3 separate regions of the Homo sapiens genome follow, and all the other regions are linked to region 3. The links are contacts of gene promoters, found by promoter capture Hi-C in blood cells and fetal thymus (Javierre and others, 2016). All regions are on one chromosome and are shown on one strand. Each heading gives the region's core, a stretch centred on a gene start or on the middle of the fragment in contact. The rest is flanking DNA. Distances are from core to core; before and after follow the strand shown.

Region 1 (3,950 bases), core at 1,114-3,613, 620 kb after region 3:
AGGATATGCACATTTTTAAGGCTTTGATGCACATTGCTTCACTAACCTCAGGAAAAGTAGTGATAAATTATACCCCAGGGATGGCTATTGTCCCCAGGGACAATGCTGATCTTTATATGCAGGGTCTAGAGCAAAGCATTGCATATAATAAGAGCTGATTAAATATGCATAGATTGTAATTTGAGCATAATAAATCCAGACTCTTTCAAGCACACTATCTGCAGTTCTTCTGTCTGCTGTTAGCCCTCCAAGAGACAGAGTAAAGAATTGTTCATAAAAATGAGAGAAAGGTAAGGGATGATGAAAAGAAAGTGGAACAATATCTCAGGGGAGTGTGCCATTTAATAATACCCTAGGTCATTACACAGCACTTTCACTGAAATATAGGTGTTAATGGCCCACTTATGAACATTTCTACTCCAACATAAATTAGAGTCTAAATTATTTAAACCATCCCAATGTAACCATACCAGGCAAAAGTCGGGTACATAGAAGTACCATGGCTTAGAGGTAAAAGACCATGGAGAAAATAATTATCATAATATCCAACCTCCCAATAAACATGATGGAATTGCCACTTGGGAATCCACACCCTCCCTTCAATATCCAACGTAACCAGCTTAGGGAAAGCACTTCAAAGAAGTGTGGGTGAAGATAAAGGAACACTTAGTTACAATCTGAGCTCACCCTGCAAGCTTTGATTTCTGACTATTCTTAGGACTTGTTTCTTTCAAATCCTCAGACTAGAGGGCTTGGTTCATTTTGACAGAGAAAGATAATCATTGAAAAACAGAAGGAGGTTTGGTTTAGCCTTACAATGGTTTCTATGTTAAGCCTCACAAATGAAAGTCATATTAAACTGGATTTATTCATCCCTGACATCAAAGAAAGGAGAATGAAGGAGAAAAAAACGTATTAAAACTTGCAAAAAATAATCTTTCTATAAAACCTGACATTTATGAACATAACTCAAAGAAATACCTAAAAATTAATCTGTGGATTACACCAATTTAAAATGTATGGGAAGAATACAAGTAGGAAGAGGGGGAAAACAAACAAAGGGAAATATATTGACATTCTGAAGTCTCTTTTCATTTAACAACAAATATTTTCAAAGAACACAAGGCTTTCTCAGTCATTAACAATTCATTTTTTTATAAGCTACATTCAATTTTAATCATCTACAATATATGAAAAATCCCCCTCAGGATTACCTGCACAAAATTGCAAAAGAAAAAAAAATTGTAAGATTATATGACAGTTTCAAAGCTGAATTACAAATGTATGCACCCAGCAGCAGATAAAAATGAAGGAGAATACGGGAATGATTAAGTTTTCAATTTCCCTACAATGACTTGATGTTAATTTCAATTCACTTACAAGCCTCTTTGTAAAGGATTAATAAAGAAAAGAAATAATCTGATGGTTTGACAACATGAAGGTACTGGGAAATTATTTCCCTGAGAGATTGTCATTTAGAAGCTGGATAAGTTTCTGATTCACTTGCGGCCTCAGTTTCTCATCTTTAAACTGGGAATTGGGAAATGACAATGATGATTCCCCAGTAGGATTCATGTGAGGATTTCATGAGATGATGGAATTCAAATGTTGTGCAGATGGCAGGGACTCACTTAAAAATAGCCATTTTTATTGACATGGGCATGGCAAAAATTTAAAGTGCCTGTGATAAAGATCATCAGTGAATCTCATACAATAGACTTTTCTAAACTTTGCCCTTCCTTCTCTTTAATTCTTTGATATCTACAGTATAACCAGTAATATGTTCTGCTTTGAGTGTCTTAAGATGGAAAACATCAACAAGCAACAATACTTTGCATTGAGTACTTACTACATGCCAGGTGCTTTATGTCATCTCAAACAGTCCTCACAACAAACCTATTGCGTAGGCACTACTCATCTTAGTTTGCCAATAACAAAATTGAGACCTAAATAAGTTAAGGAGTTTTCCAAATGGCTGGAGGCAGCACAGAGGTTAAAAGCATGAGCTCTGGAGCCAAGCTGCCTCAGTTTCCCTATTGAGGGAAATTGGGATGGGTAGTATATTTGACAGTGTTCTCTAGAGAAATAGAACTAATAGGATGTGGGTGTGGGGGCGCTGAGGGGAAGCAGTGTGGGAGAGAGAGAGACTTTATGTTAGGGAATTGGTTCATGCAATGGTGGGGGCTGGAAAATGCAAACTTTGCAGTGGTGACTGGCAGTCTGGAAATTCCAGCAGAAGTTGATTGTTGCAGTTTTGAGTCCAAAGGCAGTCTGGAGGCAGAGTTCTGTCCTCCTGGCGGGACCTCAATCTTTTTTCTTAAGGCCTTCAACTGATTGGAGGAGACCTACTCACATTAAAGAGGGTAATGTACTTTACTCAAAGTCTACTGATTCAAATGTTAATCACCTAAAATCACCTAAAAAAATACCTTCCCAGCAACATCTGGACTGGTGCTTGACCTAGCAACTGGGTGCTACAACCTACCACATTGACACATAAAATTAACCACCACTGGGGGTAAGAACATTACCTACCTCGCATGGTTTGGAAGGATTAAATAATATAAATCATGCACAGTACTTGGTATGCCTGAGGCCCTCAGTGTCTTTATTTTCTTATGGACAGAGCCTGCTAAGGAGGAAGCAGTCCATAGGTGTTAGCTATTGTTATAAAGGGACACAGCCATATTAGAACCCAGGTCATTTGCCTCCAGAGCTGATTGTCAACTTTTAAACCTGTACTGTCCAATATGATAACAGTCAGAGAGATGTGACTACTTACCATGTGTACGTGGCTAGTGTGACTAAAATTTAAATCTCATTTCAAAACCAAAGCACAGTAATTTGTTTGTTTGTTTGAGATGGAGTCTCCCTCTGTCACCAGGCTGGAGTGCAGTGGCACGATCTCGGCTCACTGCTATCTCCGCCTCCCAGGTTCAAGCCCCCCTCCCCTGCTTCAGCCTCCTGAGTAGCGGTGACTACAGGCTCGCACCACCACGCCCGGCTAATTTTTTGGTAGAGATGGGGTTTCACCATGTTGACCAGGATGGTCTTGATCTCTTGACCTCATGATCCGCCTGCCTTGGTCTCCCAAAGAGCAGAGTGAATTTTTAAGCATTGAAATGGCCTGAGTACTAGATATATTTAGTTAAATAAAATATACTATCAAAATTAATTTCATCTTTTACTTTTTGCTTTTGTAAATGTGGCTACTAGAAAAATCTAAATAACACACATGGCTTGCATCATATATTTCTTGTACGGTGCTACTCTAAGCATGGCGCCTTCCCAGGGGTACACAGGCCTGGCGTGTGAACACAAGCCCTCCACAGGACAGGCTAAGCAGCGAAAACACTGCACCAGTGCATCTTAACGTCAGCGAGGCTACCCAACTTCTTAAAAAAAAAAATCTTAACAGTAGCACCACCCACAAAGGAAATAAGTAAACTGGACTTTATTAAAATTAGCTCTTTTGCCTATCAAAAGACACTACTAATAGGGTAAAACAGCAAACTACAGATTTGGAAAAGATATTTGCAATTCATATAGCCAAACAGTGGACTTATATTTAGGATATATAACAAATTCCTGTGAATCAATTTTTTAAAAAAGGAATAAAACTCAATAGAAAAATGTGTGAAATATTTGAACAGGCATTTTAGAAAACAAGGTGTCCAAATGGCCAATAAACACATTACATGCAAATTAAAACATAATGGCTGAAATGAAAATGATGGAAAAATATCAAATGCTGACAAAGATGAAACAACTGAAATTCTTACATATCGCTAGTATGGTATAAATTGGTATGACCATGTTGGAGGATTTTTTTTTCCTGCCAAGTAAAAGCATGCTTCCTTCCACTAACACCCCCCTCGGTGCAGGAAAATTAATCTCTAACTTAAAAAGCCAGCGTTTCAAAATGTATAAAATAATGAGGCAGAGAGAAG
Region 2 (4,018 bases), core at 417-2,916, 570 kb after region 3:
CCCCGGAACCAACTTTCTAGCGACACCTACCTGCCCTGCAGAAACTCCCCCCACTGAACTCCGAGGCTCTGTGGTGTGCAGGTGAGCCTGAACCAGCCCTGGCTCTGCAGACAAGCCTCGCATGGGACCTCGGCAAAGTTACTTCCCCTCTAGGGGCCCCAGTTGCCTTAATTAACCCCATAGGGTTTTTGTAAGGATTGAGTTAACACAGGCAAAGTGCTTAGAACAGCAGCCATTGCATGTGAAAGGGCCTATGAATACTCGTTATTGTTGTTGTTAATCAGAGTTTTTCCGCCTTTCCCACCATATCTAGTAAGGGCCTGAGGGCATGAAGTGATAGTGGTGAACATGCACTTTCTTGCAAGTCTCTGTAGTTTTACCATTTTAACAAAATGAGTCTGATTTTGTATTCTCCTCCACCATAGATTTTTTTTCGAGACAGCTTCTCGCTCTGTCGCCAGGCTAGAGTGCAGTGGTGCAATCTCGGCTCACTGCAACCTCTGCCTCCACGGTTCAAGTGATTCTCCTGCCTCAGCCTCCCAAGTAGCTGGGATTACAGGCGCCTGCCACAACCCCCAGCTAATTTTGTATTTTTATAGTAGAGATAGGGTTTCACCATATTGGCCAGGTTGACCTTGAACTCCTGACCTCAGGTGATCCACCCACCTTGGCCTCCCAAACTGCTGGGATTACAGGCATGAGCCACCATGCCTGGCTGACTCCCAGACCTTTACCTCTCCCTATGAGGCCTTCTTTGCCCTTTATGTAAAATTACCAGCTCTCCACCCATTGCCCCATAACTCCCTGTTCCCCATCGCCTTACTTTTTCAAACCCTTAGCACTTGTCATTATTTAATATTCCTTTTAATTCTAATTTTTGTATTTTTAATAGAGACAGGGTTTCACCATGTTGGCCAGGATGGTCTTGATATCTTGACTTCGTGATCCACCCGCCTCGGCCTCCCAAAGTGCTGGGATTACAGGCGTGAGCCATCGCGCCCGGCTTCCACCATAGATTTTATCAGCCCTGAAATAAAGTGTTTTAAGTCACACAAGGAGGAAAAACAAAAATTGGTCCTAGGTTTGTTTCTAAGGTTCCTGTTGCAGGCCCAGCACCCCTGTTTGAGATGCTCAGCTTTAAATTGCATATCTCTCTAGATAGCTCCCCATGCTTCCCAATGAAGCATCTCATTACATCTTCTTGATTGGCATTCTGGAGGCACAGGTGAGGCAAACACACCTACAGAGTTATAGCGTGCATCCTGGCTAATAGGGCTGAGTCTGGCTTCCGACTGCCTGGGTTCCAATGCCAGCCACTCCACTTAATAGCAATGACAATTTGCTGGATTTCTTTTAAGTCTCAGTTTCCTCATCTGTACTATGGGAGGGGGGCAGAAGGGAATAGCTATGTTATAAGGAATAAGTTAGGTCATCTAACTTGCCTGGCAACAAAATAATATTGGCCCTAGTTAGGTGGGGTCCTGATGGTAAATACAGGAGCCCAGAGCTTGTCCAAGGCACTCCCTTCAGTGAGCTCCCTGTTAACTGTATGTTAAGGGGTGTGTGCGTGCATGCGTGTGTCTCCTGGTTCAGAGGTTCTCACCTAGGGATAATGCTGCTCTCCAGGGGACATTTGACAACATCTGGAAAGAATTTTGATTGCCAAAACTAAGAGAGGGGGAGTTATCACTGGCATCTAGTTGGCGAAGGACAGAGATGCTGCTAAACATTCTACAGTGCACAAGACAGCGTCTTCAAACCAGCACAGAATCATCCACCCCCAAATGTCAGTAGTGCCAAGGTTAAGAAAGTCTACCCTGGTTAGAAAAGAAGCCCCACGAGAGCAGTGTCCATTATTCTTCTGTTCACTGCTGTATCCCCTGACCATAGCAGAGTGCTTGGTCCTCAAGAAATACTTGCTGAATGAATGAGTGATTGACATGAATGAGTGATAATCAAGATTCTTCGAAGGTAGAGACATCCATGGAGCTGGGTGAGCACAGGGTTTGTCTGTGGATCTGTTTCCCTCCCTGAAGAATCACTGAACCTTGGAGAGAGGGTCCCAAGGCTGGGTGAGATCCAGGATACAGGGCCTCTCTGGGGGCTGGATGGTGGATTGCAGGATCATGCAGTACACACCAGGCATACCATTCCAGGAAAGCAATCAGAAAACTCGGCCAGCAGCCGCCAAGAGTGGATACTCCCCTCAATGTCTCTTGGAGTCAGAGACCATGGGAGCCCTCCGGACCACAGGTATCTGGGAGTCAGGTACTTTGTTTGTACCTGACTCAGCCAGGATAGTTTGTCATCAGCAATTTTGAGTCATTTTGGTGGGGGCTGCAAAGCACTTAGAGTAAATCCTTTGAGGGCCTGTTGACAACAAAATAGTTCTTATTTCAGGGCCAATAATGCAATTCCCTTGCATCTCCTTTTTTAAGGTCATCATTCCCTGCCCTGGAAAATGCTATGTCCCAGTCCCAGCATTTCTGCAATTTTGAGAAGAAGGTCCACATCAGCAAATTCCAGCAACTCCCTGACTCTGGCCCCACATCCATTGGCTTCCCTGGTTCTGAGGCCTTTGGTCTTGGACAGAACCACCCTGCTGCCTTCCCTGGTTCTCCAGCTTGCAAGTGGCCTGTCGTGGGTCTTCTCAGTCTCCATAATCATATGAGCCAATTCCCCTAATAAATCCCTTCCTATATACCTATAAAATTTAAACAATTGATATTGTAATAATCCATTCTTTTATTTAACCCCTTTAGTGGGGCATATCTTTCCTCATCTTTTTTTCCTAAGCAAAAGAATCACTAAATCCTCACTTCCTTGGAAAGCAAAAACCAACAAAACCAAATGAACCTAACTTAGGCCTTGCCACTCCTGCAATTAGGAAGGGACTTAGGTCAGAGTGTGTGGTGGAGACACTTCGTTGGGAGGCAGGTGAAATGGATGACTTCCTTACCTAATATTTGTTTAGTACTTTGGCCTATGGAGGGCAGTGGAGTCTCTAACTGAGCTTAATTGTTATTGATGTTTAGTAAGCCATAAAACCCCAATTTCCTGCCTGCACCCCCAGCCATAAAATAACCATCTGCAGCAGCCCGTAAACACCCCCTGGTCACCAGGCTCCATTCGCAGCACCTGTGGAGCTGGTTAATGAGCATGAAGCCAAGGCCTCCTGGACAGTTCTTTCCTCCCCTCCTTTTTGCCTCAGTAGTTCCTCTGACCTGCTCCCCACCTGGGGCCTCCAAAGGCCTGGCTTTGCCACTGAGCAATGGCTGCAGCAGCAGCCCTGTACCCCAGGAAAGGCGAAGGGTCTGGGCTGGGAGCCAGTGGTCCCAAAGGCCTGATGTGCCTGGCCCTAAAAGTGGAGCATCAATCTTCTCCCTGAGCACACGAAGCTCAAGGGGCCCATCTCAGGGCAAAGGGAGAGCAGGAGCCCCGACCCCAGTAAACACCTCCTCCCAATGGACTAGGCCTTGCCGAGGGTGCAGCTGATGGCCTCAGTCTAGGAGGGCCCATTGCCATTGCTGTGAAAGGGCTCAGAAGCTGGGGCTCCACTTTCGGGCTGAACATAGAGGCTCAAGAGCCCTGTTATAAAATTTTCTGGGGTTTAAATACCCTTTAGAGGTTTCCCATTGGCCACTTCGTGTACACCCCATGTAAATGAAGTAGTGGCTCACAATCAGTCCGATTAGTTGGCTTGCAACCAATCAGAGGCTGAAGTGAAGTTACAAAGGTTACACTCTATACCAGCGTATTTAGCCTTTGACTGGTTGTGGGAAGCAACCAATCAGAGGCTAAAGTGAAATTACAACGTTGCACTTCCATGCAAAGAAAGACTTGGCCCGCAATCAGTCTGACTGGCTGAGGAAAGCAACCAATTAGAGGTCCTTTCAGTTTTCCATCTGCAACGCAGAAAAGGTTAGGGGGTGGTTTGCACAGAGAGTAGCCTCCAGTCCTTTCGTTACTTAGGTGTGGAACGTTGGGGTTTTCCCTTCGATTTAGTTCTAGGAAGGTG
Region 3 (4,140 bases), core at 1,489-3,988:
AGACGGGGTTTCACCATGTTGGCCAGGAGGGTTTCAATCTCCTGACCTCGTGATCCACCCACCTAGGCCTCCCAAAGTGTTGGGATTACAGGTGTGAGCCACTGCACCCAGCCCACAATTACTTTTGCACCAATACATAGAATTATGTTTCCCAATTGAGAGGACATTCGAGATGTTCAAGGAAATTAAGGTCATTGGAGGTAATCCAAGGGCCTCCAATACCCTAATTGACCTGGTGAGGAGTGGGAGTGGAGGGGGTCCCTTCCCAATTCTCTTTTCATCAATGCTCTTGATGAAGAGTTTGTTGCTAATGTGTCTTTAACACCTTTCTAGCCTTTGGTAACCTTCCTTTCAAAGAGAAAGTGGGACCTCAGCTTCAACACCTCCTCAGGCAGCAGTATCTTGTTAGACTGTATTATTATTATTGTGGTTAAAGATACATTGTTAGAATTTAATAACACTTATTTTCATTGTATTTATTTTGATGGTTACCTTCTATTTATAGTAATGTGATGCTGGCTTTCCATTTATGGTAATAATTTAACATATCTTTTTAAAAACAAGCTCACTTAAGTAAATTAAAAAAGAATGAAAAAATAAGAGTTGATTTAGAGAAGCCTATTCAGCAGATGTCCTTAGCTAATGCACAGATAGGGCCAGGTCCTCCATGGAGGCTGGAGAGAGGCTGAGGTCCAGGAAACTGACTTGGAACTGGAGTCAGGGACCGAGCTGGTTGTCTAAGTTGTGCAGCGGGTCTGCACTCTCTTCCCCTGCGCCTGCCCCGTTCTGCCAAGCCCCAGACCCTTAGAGACTCTATCCCTCTCTCTGCCTGTCTCTGGTCTCCACTTCCCCAGCTCCAGCACCCTTGCTGTGGGCTTCCCGTTTTTCCTCTTTAAATGTATGTGGCGCCTGGTGTCCAAGGAGGCTCACACGGGGCCTCTCCCAGCAGCATTCCACAAGTGCAGGGCCTGTGGGGTGTTCAGCCTCCACCCTCCATTCTGTTTTGGCAGCTGAAGGGTGAATGTGGAGCCCTTCTCCTTGTCCTCCTCTTATAGAAATTCCACCATTAGGGACTTCCTCCCCTTGGGTGAAGCTTTGCTCACTCTGGGTCCCTTTGAAACCGCGGATCCAGGGATTTTTCTTCCAGCCACGTGCCTACTCTAAGAGTCCCGGTGACGCGGTGAAGTTCTTTAAAGGACCAGACATCCCTGAAGTCCTTACAGGGACATCCCCTTACAGGGACGAATCCATTTCCTGGAATGTGGGCAAGGAAAGGCAGCCACTTCCTGCCTCTCAAAACTCTGGCTGGTGGCTGGGTGCAGTGGCTACGTCTGTCATCTCAGCACTTTGGGAGACTGAGGTGGGAGGATCACTTGAGGCCAGGAATTGGAGACCAGCCTGGGCAACATGGTAAGAGTCCAGCTCTACAAAACACACACGCACACACACACACACACACACACACACACACACACACACACCAAAAACAACAGAAAACATTAGCCAGGCATGATGGCACATGCCTCTGGTCCCAGCTACTCGAGGGGGCTGAGTTGGAAGGATTGGATTGCTTGAGCCCAGGAGGTCGAGCCTACAGTAAGCCGTGCAGGAGGTCGGGCTACAGTGAGCTGTGCTTGTTGACCAGGCTTGTCCAGCCTGGTCAGCAGAGCGAGACCTTGTCTCAAAAACAAAACAAAAACAAAACAAGAAGATCCCCCTCCCCCCAAACTCTGCCCAGTGGCCTGACTACCAACATCCATATACAAGACAGGAGTAGGGTCAACTCCTTCCTATCAGTCACCCCTTAGTGAGAATCAGCTGGCCAAGGGGCCTCCTGCAGAGCTGATGTGTGCTTGAATGCCTAGGGCCCACGGGGATGGGGTGTGGAAGCTTCAAGCTGGGACTCAAAACAGAGTTGCCAAGGGAAGAGGAGTGGGCGACCCGAGCCCCTGTCATCAGTACTTTCACTTGGGCTGTCAGTTTTGATCTGCTTGCTTGTCCGTTTTGTCTGGGGCAGGGTCGGGTAGTTGTTTAGAGGAGGCTCAGAGGTTAAAAGTCTCAGGCAAGTCATGTCAGGGGTTGGGAGCCAGTGCTGCTGTGGCAGCAGTACAGAGAAGAAAAGATAAGCTCCCCAGCCCCGCAAGAACCTCAGCCCTGAGGCCGGAGACACAGATCTGGCCCCTTGCAATCAAGTCATTTGCATCTGACCTGGGGTCAGGCCCCTCCATGCAGGAAGTCCCCTTTCTTATCTGCAAGTCAGAGGAGGGTGAGTTCCCCAGGCTTTCAACAGGTACTTCCCCCGGCAGCGGGAAGCCCAGGAGCCCGATCAGGACCGAGGATCTCACCCCAACCCCTGCGTTTGGGCCCCGGGGTCAGCTGAAAGTTCCCCTGGAATAAACACTTCGGGTCCAGCATGCCCCTCTCCCCACTCCCGCAACGATCTTCCGAATTCAGACGCAGAGAGGGCCCGCGAGCAGAGCGGGAGGTGGTCGGAGGCGGAGGAAGGGGAGATGGGCAGAGGGTGGGCCCAGGGACCCCCAGACAAGGCCTGGACGCGGGGTTGGAGGAGGAGGCGGAGGCTGGCGGGAGGCGAGGGGCAGCCCGCAGAGGAGACGCGCTTCTCGGCAGCAACGGCGTCTGGAGCCGGGAGGGGCGGAGGTTTGGGGAGGGGGAGGGAGGGCGGGGGAGGGGAGGGACGGACGGCGGCGGAGGTGGGGCCGGCGGGCTGGCGGGCGTGCAGCTGCCGCCGGCGTCGCGGGGCTCCAGGCTGCGGGGCGGACGTAGCGCCGAGCGATCCACCGCGGAGCCGCGCGAGGCCGCCCGAGCCCCAGCCCCGGCCCCGGCCCCAGCCCCGGCCCCGGCCCCGGCCCCGGCCCCGGCCCCGGTCCCGGCCCCGAGCCCCGAGCGAGCGCCGCCGCCTCGCGCTGCGGGTCCCCGGACGCGCCGCCACCGCCGGGAAGGCAGCCGGCGCCGGGCAAGTTGCGAGCGCGCCCCTCCGACCAGGAAAGTTTCCCCCCGGCCGCCGGCGGGATTTGGCGCGGGGTCCGGCAGCCGCCGCTGGAAGGTATGGGGCTCCGCACCTCCGTGCCCTCCGCACGCCGCCGCCGCGCCCCCGGGGACCTGGGGACCCCCCCGCGCGCCGCCCCGGGGGTGCTGCTGGACGCGGCGGGGAATTGGGGTGGAGTAGGGATCCCAGGACGGAAGCCCGGCAACCAAGTTCCACTCAAACTAGCACGCGGGGGCTGGGGGGCCGGGGACGGTCTCCACCCCGTGCCTGCCCGGAGTCCGCTGAGGGCCGGGGGCTGCGCCCAGGACAGGTGCAGAGCCGGTGGGCTCCCAGTGCTCCGGGTGGAGGAGTGGGGGCTTCTGGAGAACGGCGCGGGGTGGCAGGTGTGGTTACAAGGTTCGGGGTTTCGGCCAGGGCTGCGCCCGGAAAGGGGCTGCTCGCCACGCCACCCGGTAAGACAGTGAGGGACCAGGGACTGGGAGCGGCGATCGGGGCCGGGAGGGCTGTGGGGCCCGGCAGCTGCATGGAGGGCGGGCTGCCTTTGGGGTCCCTGGCAGCGGGGCGGGGCGGGGCGGAGGCGCCACTCGTTCCTCCAGGACCCCCCTTATTCCTTAGGTGTGTGCGGTTTGGGGAAGTGGAGACTCCATGGAGTGCTGGGTGGGTGGGAGGCTCGGGCACGTCCAGATTTAGGGGGCAGTGGGAGCCAGTTGGGACGGTGCTCGGCTCGGGTGGGATCGCGCCGGCTCCGGGTCCTGCTGGAGTGAGGTGACTGGGCTCCCGCCAGGGGGCGCACTGCCCCGGCCCTCGCCAGCAGGAAGCGCGTTCTGGCTCCTGCGAGGCAACCGCGCCGACATCCAGGACGCAGGGACCACAGACACCCAACTTACGCGGGGTCCCGCCCCGAGGAGCCCGCCCTACACTAGCCAGACGGGGGAGCGGGACCAAGAGTGAGGCGAAAGGTTCACAGTTATAACTGCGCCGTGGGCTGGAAAGGCTAGGAGTCAGGATGTGATTTTTCTCGGGAAGGCTGCCAGGGCAAATGGATGAGTAAGAAATTTACCCCCAGAAAAAGATGTAAGAAACTACAACTGCGAATTGGTGCAGAGAGAGTGGGTTGGGGAATTAACTTTTTG

Evidence for each region. Contacts are between HindIII fragments. The CHiCAGO score rates a contact against its expected background, and 5 or more counts as called.
Region 1: a contact is called between a fragment that was not itself captured here and the fragment with the promoter of TSPAN18 in region 3, in 1 of 17 cell types (naive CD4 T cells). The highest score is 5.4, in naive CD4 T cells.
Region 2: a contact is called between a fragment that was not itself captured here and the fragment with the promoter of TSPAN18 in region 3, in 1 of 17 cell types (M0 macrophages). The highest score is 5.1, in M0 macrophages.

What each region holds. Positions count from the first base shown.
Region 1 is chr11:45,343,497-45,347,446 of GRCh38, forward strand. No RefSeq gene overlaps it. Among named protein-coding and RNA genes, the nearest start is that of LINC02696, 9.9 kb to the right of the region's middle. RefSeq lists an enhancer at 3,777-3,950. The HindIII fragment of the contact is 3,341 bases long and covers 694-3,950 here.
Region 2 is chr11:45,298,741-45,302,758 of GRCh38, forward strand. No RefSeq gene overlaps it. Among named protein-coding and RNA genes, the nearest start is that of SYT13, 14 kb to the left of the region's middle. RefSeq lists an enhancer at 1-495. The HindIII fragment of the contact is 5,523 bases long and covers 1-4,018 here.
Region 3 is chr11:44,724,224-44,728,363 of GRCh38, forward strand. TSPAN18 (tetraspanin 18) reads left to right here and starts at 2,739. Exons shown (of 10, transcript NM_130783.5): 1 at 2,739-3,064. All of the region lies in intron 2 of TSPAN18-AS1 (TSPAN18 antisense RNA 1), which reads right to left. RefSeq lists enhancers at 1,267-2,127, 2,128-2,989, 2,356-2,525 and silencers at 2,716-2,865, 3,702-3,871. The HindIII fragment of the contact is 6,014 bases long and covers 1,889-4,140 here.